Regions from separate parts of the Homo sapiens genome. Here region 2 is linked to region 1. The links are contacts of gene promoters, found by promoter capture Hi-C in blood cells and fetal thymus (Javierre and others, 2016). All regions are on one chromosome and are shown on one strand. Each heading gives the region's core, a stretch centred on a gene start or on the middle of the fragment in contact. The rest is flanking DNA. Distances are from core to core; before and after follow the strand shown.

Region 1 (3,587 bases), core at 477-2,976:
GGGTTGGGAGTTGAACCCTACATCTCCTGACTCCCAGACCCCTTTTCTGGTGCCTCTTTGTCACTCAAGCTGTCAAACACCTTTGCACGCAGCAGTGTCCCTTGGCTGGGTGTGGTGGCTCATGCCTGTAATCCCAGCACTTCGGGAGGTCAAGGTGGGAGGATCGCTTGAGTCCAGAAGTTTGAGACAAGCATGGGCAAACATGGCAAGATCTCGTCTCTAAAAAAGAATACAAAAATTAACCGATGCATGGTGGCATGTACCTATGGTCCCAGCTATTTGGGAGGCTGAAGTGTGAGGATCACTCGAGACACTGCATGCCAGACTGGGCAATAGAGCGAGACCCTGTCTCAAAAAAAAAGTGTCCCTCGTGGGTTTGGTTGCATGAGAATGCTTGGTGTTCAATTCTTGAGGTTATTAGAAGATTGAACTTTGAAATCATCCCGCAACCTTGAACCAAAAGGTGAAATTGTCCACTTTGATAGATGACAACGGAAGGATCCTTTGGTTCAATGGACAGCTTGTAAATATAAAACAGTTGCTGGAAAATTATATTAGAGATGAGCTATCTCCTCCATTACAATGTTTGCTTTTCTTTAATGCGATTGAGTTCCAACAGAAAGGCTTGGGAGGGGCCACAAGCAATGCTTCAGGAGTTACTGGAAGAGAGATATGGGGAGTGAGAGAGGAGATCCATCGATGTGGAGCAGGGGCCAGGGGAGGCCTTCTGCCCAGGAGGCCTGTGCTGAGGACCCTGGCTGTGCCCAAGGGAAACTGAATTCAGAGCTCCTCCTGCATCATAAATCCAGGACAGCTGGCAGCTCTCCAAGGAAGACTGGCGCTAAACTCCAAGGGCATCAGCCGCCAGATTGGCCAACCCCTACAATGCCCTTTGAGAGCTGAGCCCCAGGTGTGTTGAATCGGGATTCCGTTCCAACCTCATGACCACATTCATTTACAAGCCCTGCATTTTGTTAATTTAAAAATGCACTCACCAGGAGGGAAGGAGGAGAGGCTCCATTAAATATAAGACAGCTGAAAGGCTGGAATTCTTCTGACATGCATGTCTTAGGAAGGAGAAGGCCTGACCTTGTTCTTTTTTTTTTTGAGACAGGGTCTCACTCTGTCACCCAGACTGGAGTGCAGTGGTGCAATAATAACTCACTGCAGCCTCTACCTACTGGGCTCAAGTGACGTGACCTCCCACCTCAGCCTCCCCAGTAGCTGGAACTACAGGCACATGCCACCATGCCTGGGTCGCTATGTTATCGGGGCTGGTCTCCAACTTTTGTTCTCCAGCGATCCTCCCACCTCAGCCTCTCAAAGTATTGGAATACAGGTGTGAGCCACCGAGCCTGGCCAGGCCTGACTTCTGAATGCATTCGTTTCTTGATCTTTTACCCCGAGTGCACGTGCAAGTTGCACCCCTGGCCACTGGGTTTTGCAGAGTGTGGCGTTCCAGTGTCCGGGGCCCCACGCCCGTCCGCAGGCTACTGGAATGCTGAGGGCGAGGAGGCTTCGCTCCACGCACACCGGATCGGCCTGCACTTCAGGGGCCAGGTCTACAGCCTTCCCCAGCGCAGACGCCGCCGGCCCGGCCGGTTCCCGAGGGCGGGGCTGCGCGGCCTCACGCCCCGCCCACCGCGGGCAGAGGCGGGGCATGGGTCACGTGACGGCACGCCGACCAGCGAGGCCCCGCCCGGCGGGAGGAGGCCCGGCCGCGACCCGGGCCGCGCGCTGAGGAGCCGCCCGGTCGCCTGCGCGCTCCCTCCGGCGGCGTCCCCAGCCCGCGGCCCCTCTGCTGCCGGCCCCCGGCTCGCCGGCTGCGGGAGTGGCCTCAAGATGGATGAAGACGGCGGCGGCGAGGGTGGTGGCGGTGAGTGTCGGAGGTGTGGTGGGCTCGCCGGCGGCCTGGGGTCGGGGGCCGGGGGCTGGGGGTCGAGGGCGCGGCGCTGGGCCGGGGTTCGCCGGAGGAGACGGGGTCGGGGGCAGCGGCAGCGGCGTCCGCTGGAGGCCTGAGGCACGCCGGGCCAGGGCCGAGGCTGGGTCTCCGGGGGCCGAGGGAGGGGGCGGGCCGGGGTCGCCGTTCGGCGCTGGCGAGGGTCTGGGTACCAGGCCGGGGCTGCCGCGGGCTGGGGTCGCCCCGGAGTCTCGGGCCGGGGTTTGGGTGTCGCTCCTCTGGGGCGGGGGACCTTGCGGGGCGACCTTCCCCGCATCTTGTCGCCAAGGGCGTTCATGCCCTCCGGAGCCCGGCGTTTCGGACGCCCCCTTTCAGCTCAGGTGGGCGGAAGCGGCTGAGCCGGTGGGAAACCGGGAGGGGAAAGTTTTGCACTGGAGGCTCCTCGAGTGTACAGGACGGGAGGGCAGGGGAAACGGTTGGAAAGCGTGACAGTCTGCTTGGCTTTGGGTCAGAAACGGTCGCTGGATTTGCTCGAACGGGGAGGGGGCCAGCTGGAGTTCAGTTCAGGGTAGACGTTTTAGGAAACGGCAGACGCGACAGATTGAGCAAAAAACTCCGTGGAGCCGAGGGTGGGAGACACGAGCTGCACCCAGCACAGAGGCAAGACCGGAGAGCCAGGTGTGCCCGGAGCCAGGTGTGCTCCCGAGTGGGTCGGGTCGATGCGCGTCGTGGCCCAGGTGGTCTGTGTCTGACGTTCGGTTTCCTCTTGCTGGAGGAATCGTGTTTGTTGGAAATTATTTAGTGGAATACAAATGACTGCTGGGTCATGCTGGGAATTAGATTTTAAAAACAGAGGAACGTGCCTCTGTATGGAGTGGGTGTTCGCTTTGGAAAGCAAAGGGTTAATGCCCGTGTTTTTACAGGAACAGCCGAAGTTGAGGTTCTCTAGACTTTTTTTTTTTTTCCTGAAGATCTCCTTTGAGCTGACAGAGAAATCATCAGAATCATCAGAACCCCATGTAATAAGGGAGCAGTTTAGAGAAATCTTAATTACAGGCTGCCGGTGCAGCTGCCTGTAAGAATCAGCAGTATTGAATGCTTCAGGATGAAGTGGTTCATCATCAAGGTGCCTTCCAGAATTCAAGTGCTGCTCAGAGGGAGATGTTTTTTTGCTGAAAGACGCGATGCAGCCAGGATGGTGGGAAGTTGGCACCCGTCATGGCATTTGGCGAGTTCAGTTCTTATAGTTGAAGCTAGGGGTAGCACTGTGGCACCGAGTGGGTGTGTTGATGGGAGCGCTGTGGAACGAAGGCGCCCAGTTGCGAACCCTCCTACAGTCAGGCTGTCTGGAGCCATGAGATCCTAAGGAATGGGTTCCCGGTGGATGTCGTGTTTCCTGCCTGTCACAATTTGGGCATAGCTGTTTTCCCTTGTTAGAAAAGAAAGACAACTGTAATATGCAGACGTTGGACATTAGCGTCAAGGCAGCTAGCTGGCTTGGCAGTTTTGTTTGTAAGGTGCTTTGGGCTCTGTGAGTAAAGAAATGTAGACTTGAAGATTAAAGCAGGAATAAAGAGGAAAAGAGGAGGCTTTAATGTGCTCCAGCAATTTGCAGGTCTTGAGTACTATAACAAAGGATGATATGAAGTATCAAAAGTCTTAAAATTGTCCTTGGGTTGTTAGTATC
Region 2 (3,587 bases), core at 503-3,002, 130 kb after region 1:
TAAAACCCCGTCTCTACTAAAAATACAAAAAATTAGCAGGGCACAGTGGCACGCGCCTGTAGTCCCAGCTACTTGGGAGGTTGAGGCAGAAGAATCGCCTGAACCCAGGAGGTGGAGGTTGCAGTGAGCCGAGATCGAGCCACTGCACTCTAGCCTGGGTGACAGAGCAGGACTCCGTCTCAAAAAAAAAAAAAGAAAAAAGAAACAAAATTTTCATTTAGTAGTATGATGTTCACTTTTATAAATCTACATACCAAATTATATCCTCTCCCATTTAAAAATGAGCAGAATTAAAGTGAACAAAAATATAGAGGATGCTCACTGCAGCAATACATAAAACTGGAAGCAAACCAAATATCCACCAGCAAGGAATTCGGCACAGGAATTACAGTCTATCCATTCACTGCACCACACACTGCCCAGAGAGCACGCTCACACAGAAAGGTCTCAACAGAATTACACGGAACAGTGAGTGGCCAGACAGACATCAGACACAATCTCATTTATATAAAAAGTGAACAATACATTCTGGAGCAGTACATATCAAACTGTTAAAAATAATGCATTCAAAAGGAAAGGATTTTACATATATCTGCAACGTTACTCATTTTTATCATAAGCATGTATTACATCTGTAATCAGAAAAATGCAAGCTCAAAAACAACAAAAAAATTAGGAATTCAGAAAATGCAAGAGGCAGGCTGGGCACAGTCGCTGTAGTCCCAGCTACTAGGGAGGCTGAGACAGGGGAAATGCTTGAACCCTGGAGGTGGAGGATGCAGTGAGCTGATATTGCGCCACTGCACTCCAGCCTGGGCAATGGAGCAAGACTCCATCTCAAAAAAAAAAAATAATAATAACCAACTGTACTTGGCTAATATAGAAAATCTAGTTTTATTAAGATATTAAATGAAAATTCAGGCCGGGCGCGGTGGCTCACGCCTGTAATCCCAGCACTTTGGGAGGTGGGCAGATCACGAGGTCAAGAGTTCAAGACCATCCTGGCCGATAGGTGAAACCCCATCTCTACTAAAAATACAAAAATTAGCTGGGCATGGTGGCACATGCACCTATAGTCCCACCTACTCGGGAGGCTGAGGCAGAAGAATTGCTTGAACTCGGGAGGTGGAGGTTGCAGTGAGCCGAGATCACGCCACTGCATGCCAGCCTGGGTGACAGAGTGCAATTCCATCTCAAAAAAAAAAAAAAAAAAAGAAAAGAAAAAGAAAATTCAAAGAGTAATAAAAAAACTTTAAAAGCTTTTTTATGATGCTTACTACAAAGCTTGAATAATTCCTCCAAATGAAATCTTAGCATATTGAATTTTTCAATTTATATTCTCTAACAAGTAGTCTAAATTATAAATGAACTACAGTTACATAAAATGACTTATTTTAAAAATGTAATTACTCCCATAATTATGAAATTTACCTTTATCTCCAATGTTATATCAAGATATGGATCAAAAGTATCTGAAACGCCCTTGCAATTTAAACATTTGACTGAAATAAAAATAAAATGCAAAAGATGAGCAAAGTATAATCATTACAGCAACATCAACTACTGAAATGACAAAATACAATTTTGAAATTTAAAATTTTTTAACTGTAATTTTTCTATCAATTGAACAAAAAAAGTTTTAAATTAATACTACTCATAATATGGGTGAAAAGTGTAATGAATTTGGCCCCTCATATACTATTGATTAGAATCAAAACTGGTATACCCTCTTAGAAGACAACCTGACAGAATTAAAATTTACAATACACACTCCCTGTGATCCAGAAATTCTAATACTAAGAATTCATCCTACATATACATTTTTACCCAGACATAAAGCATGTGTGCACGGATGCTCCATGAACAACAACAAAACACAAACAACCTAAATCCCATCGATAGGGGACTAAAATAAATGGAACACTACTCCAACTGTCGAAGGCTGTTAGGCCTGTGTGCTGAAATGTAAAAGACTGCTAATACGAAGAGACAAATGGAAGCAGTGCACACAGTATGCTCCCAGTTTATTCATGCACAGGAAACTACCAGGAGGATTTACTACAACCTGGCACCGAGGCTGCCTCTGGGTAAAAGGAATGAGAATCTGGGCTGGAGAGAAGCACTTTTCCTTCCTTCCTAGTAGGACTAACCCTGTCCTACTATTACCATTTTTTAACCACATGTGTGTATCATTTTATCAACTTATAAGCAAAAGCTTACCTCTAGATCTTAGGTATCCTCCAAATATCTGACAAACAAGAGTGGTGGCCTGGGTGTGTCTGTCTAATCTGAAAAACGTTGAACAGTGACATGAGAGAAGAGCTTTGCAAAAACTCCAGATGCTGTGACCAGATTTCAAACACATGGGAGCTCACAAAAGATCAAGAATTCAAACAGGACAGCCATGGAAAATAAAAGGATGGCACGTGTGGCAGCCCAAGAGCATCCCTTCCTGGCCAGAACACAGGGAGGTCTGGGAGTGGCGGGAGGAGACGCAGAGCTGTGGGAGCTGTGTCTGTCAGGAAGGGACTCGGGAAGCAAGGCAGGAGTCTGGTCCTGAAGCAGGAAGATGGCAGCCTCCGGGCACTGCGGCCTGTGTGGGAGGAAAGGGAGCGGAGGCGGAAAAGGCAGAGAGTCTTCCTCCGACCCAAGTATGTCATCACCCGGACAATGAAGTCCTAGACAGGGCGGTGCCAGGGCAGGGAGAATGCAGAGGGAGATCTACCAGGTGTCTCAGACAGCACCAAGCGGCTTGGGATGCATTATCTGTCCCCTCGTTCTTCCTCTTGAGTCTGCATTTAGATTTTAAGGAACTAGCTACAAGAATCAGTAACTGATTGGGGTGGGGGTTCAGGAAATAAACACAGGCTGGAGGGCAGCAGAGAAAAGAAAATGTCAGGCACAACTAGAAAGGAGAAGCAGCTAGTTTGAGATCTGCAGACGTCTGCTGATAATGAGAAATTAAATAGCTGCAAGACCAATGTTTATTTCCTGACATCTATGATTGAGCCAACTCAAACTGTTACGTAAGACACACGTGTAAATTTCAACCATTTTAAAATAATGCACATCACCTAAGGAAGAGGCAGAGCAAAGCCAAAAGGTAAAGTGAACACTGTTCTGTGTGCTTCCAACAAAAAAGGTGAAAATGAATTCTGATAAGAATAAACTACAACCAGAGATCCCCAATGAAGACATGGCTGGCGCTCTGTTGTACTTACTTATTGCTGCCATTCAAGCATGCTTTCTGCATAGCATCAACAGTGTATTGAAGGAATTCATGGGCATCTTCTTGGTTTCCAAAACGGAAGTGCCTAGCTATACCTGTAAAATTTCGGTAAAGACAAGGCTTTATCATTACACGTAATAAGCCTAAGTTGTACCCCCCAAAATATATCTTATAATAATATGTTGGTTGGAAAACTCCCAAATACTTACTTTATGAGGAAATAGCACTAACATAAGCCACTAATATAAGCTATAAGCAGGATCAGGCCCTTTAGACTAGAATCCCCAACCGTTTGGGCACCAGGGACTGGTTTCACGGAAGACCATTTTTCCACAGACCAGAAGAGGGGGTTGGGATG

Evidence for each region. Contacts are between HindIII fragments. The CHiCAGO score rates a contact against its expected background, and 5 or more counts as called.
Region 2: a contact is called between a fragment that was not itself captured here and the fragment with the promoter of CYTH3 in region 1, in 2 of 17 cell types (M0 macrophages and M2 macrophages). The highest score is 6.7, in M0 macrophages.

What each region holds. Positions count from the first base shown.
Region 1 is chr7:6,270,763-6,274,349 of GRCh38, reverse strand. CYTH3 (cytohesin 3) reads left to right here and starts at 1,726. Exons shown (of 13, transcript NM_004227.4): 1 at 1,726-1,876. The coding sequence starts at 1,843. RefSeq lists silencers at 1,499-1,858, 2,179-2,348 and enhancers at 1,667-2,388, 2,389-3,111. The HindIII fragment of the contact is 13,610 bases long and covers 1-3,587 here.
Region 2 is chr7:6,138,829-6,142,415 of GRCh38, reverse strand. USP42 (ubiquitin specific peptidase 42) reads right to left here. Exons shown (of 18, transcript NM_032172.3): 5 at 3,222-3,324; 6 at 2,221-2,288; 7 at 1,432-1,502. Among named protein-coding and RNA genes, the nearest start is that of USP42, 36 kb to the right of the region's middle. The HindIII fragment of the contact is 931 bases long and covers 1,287-2,217 here.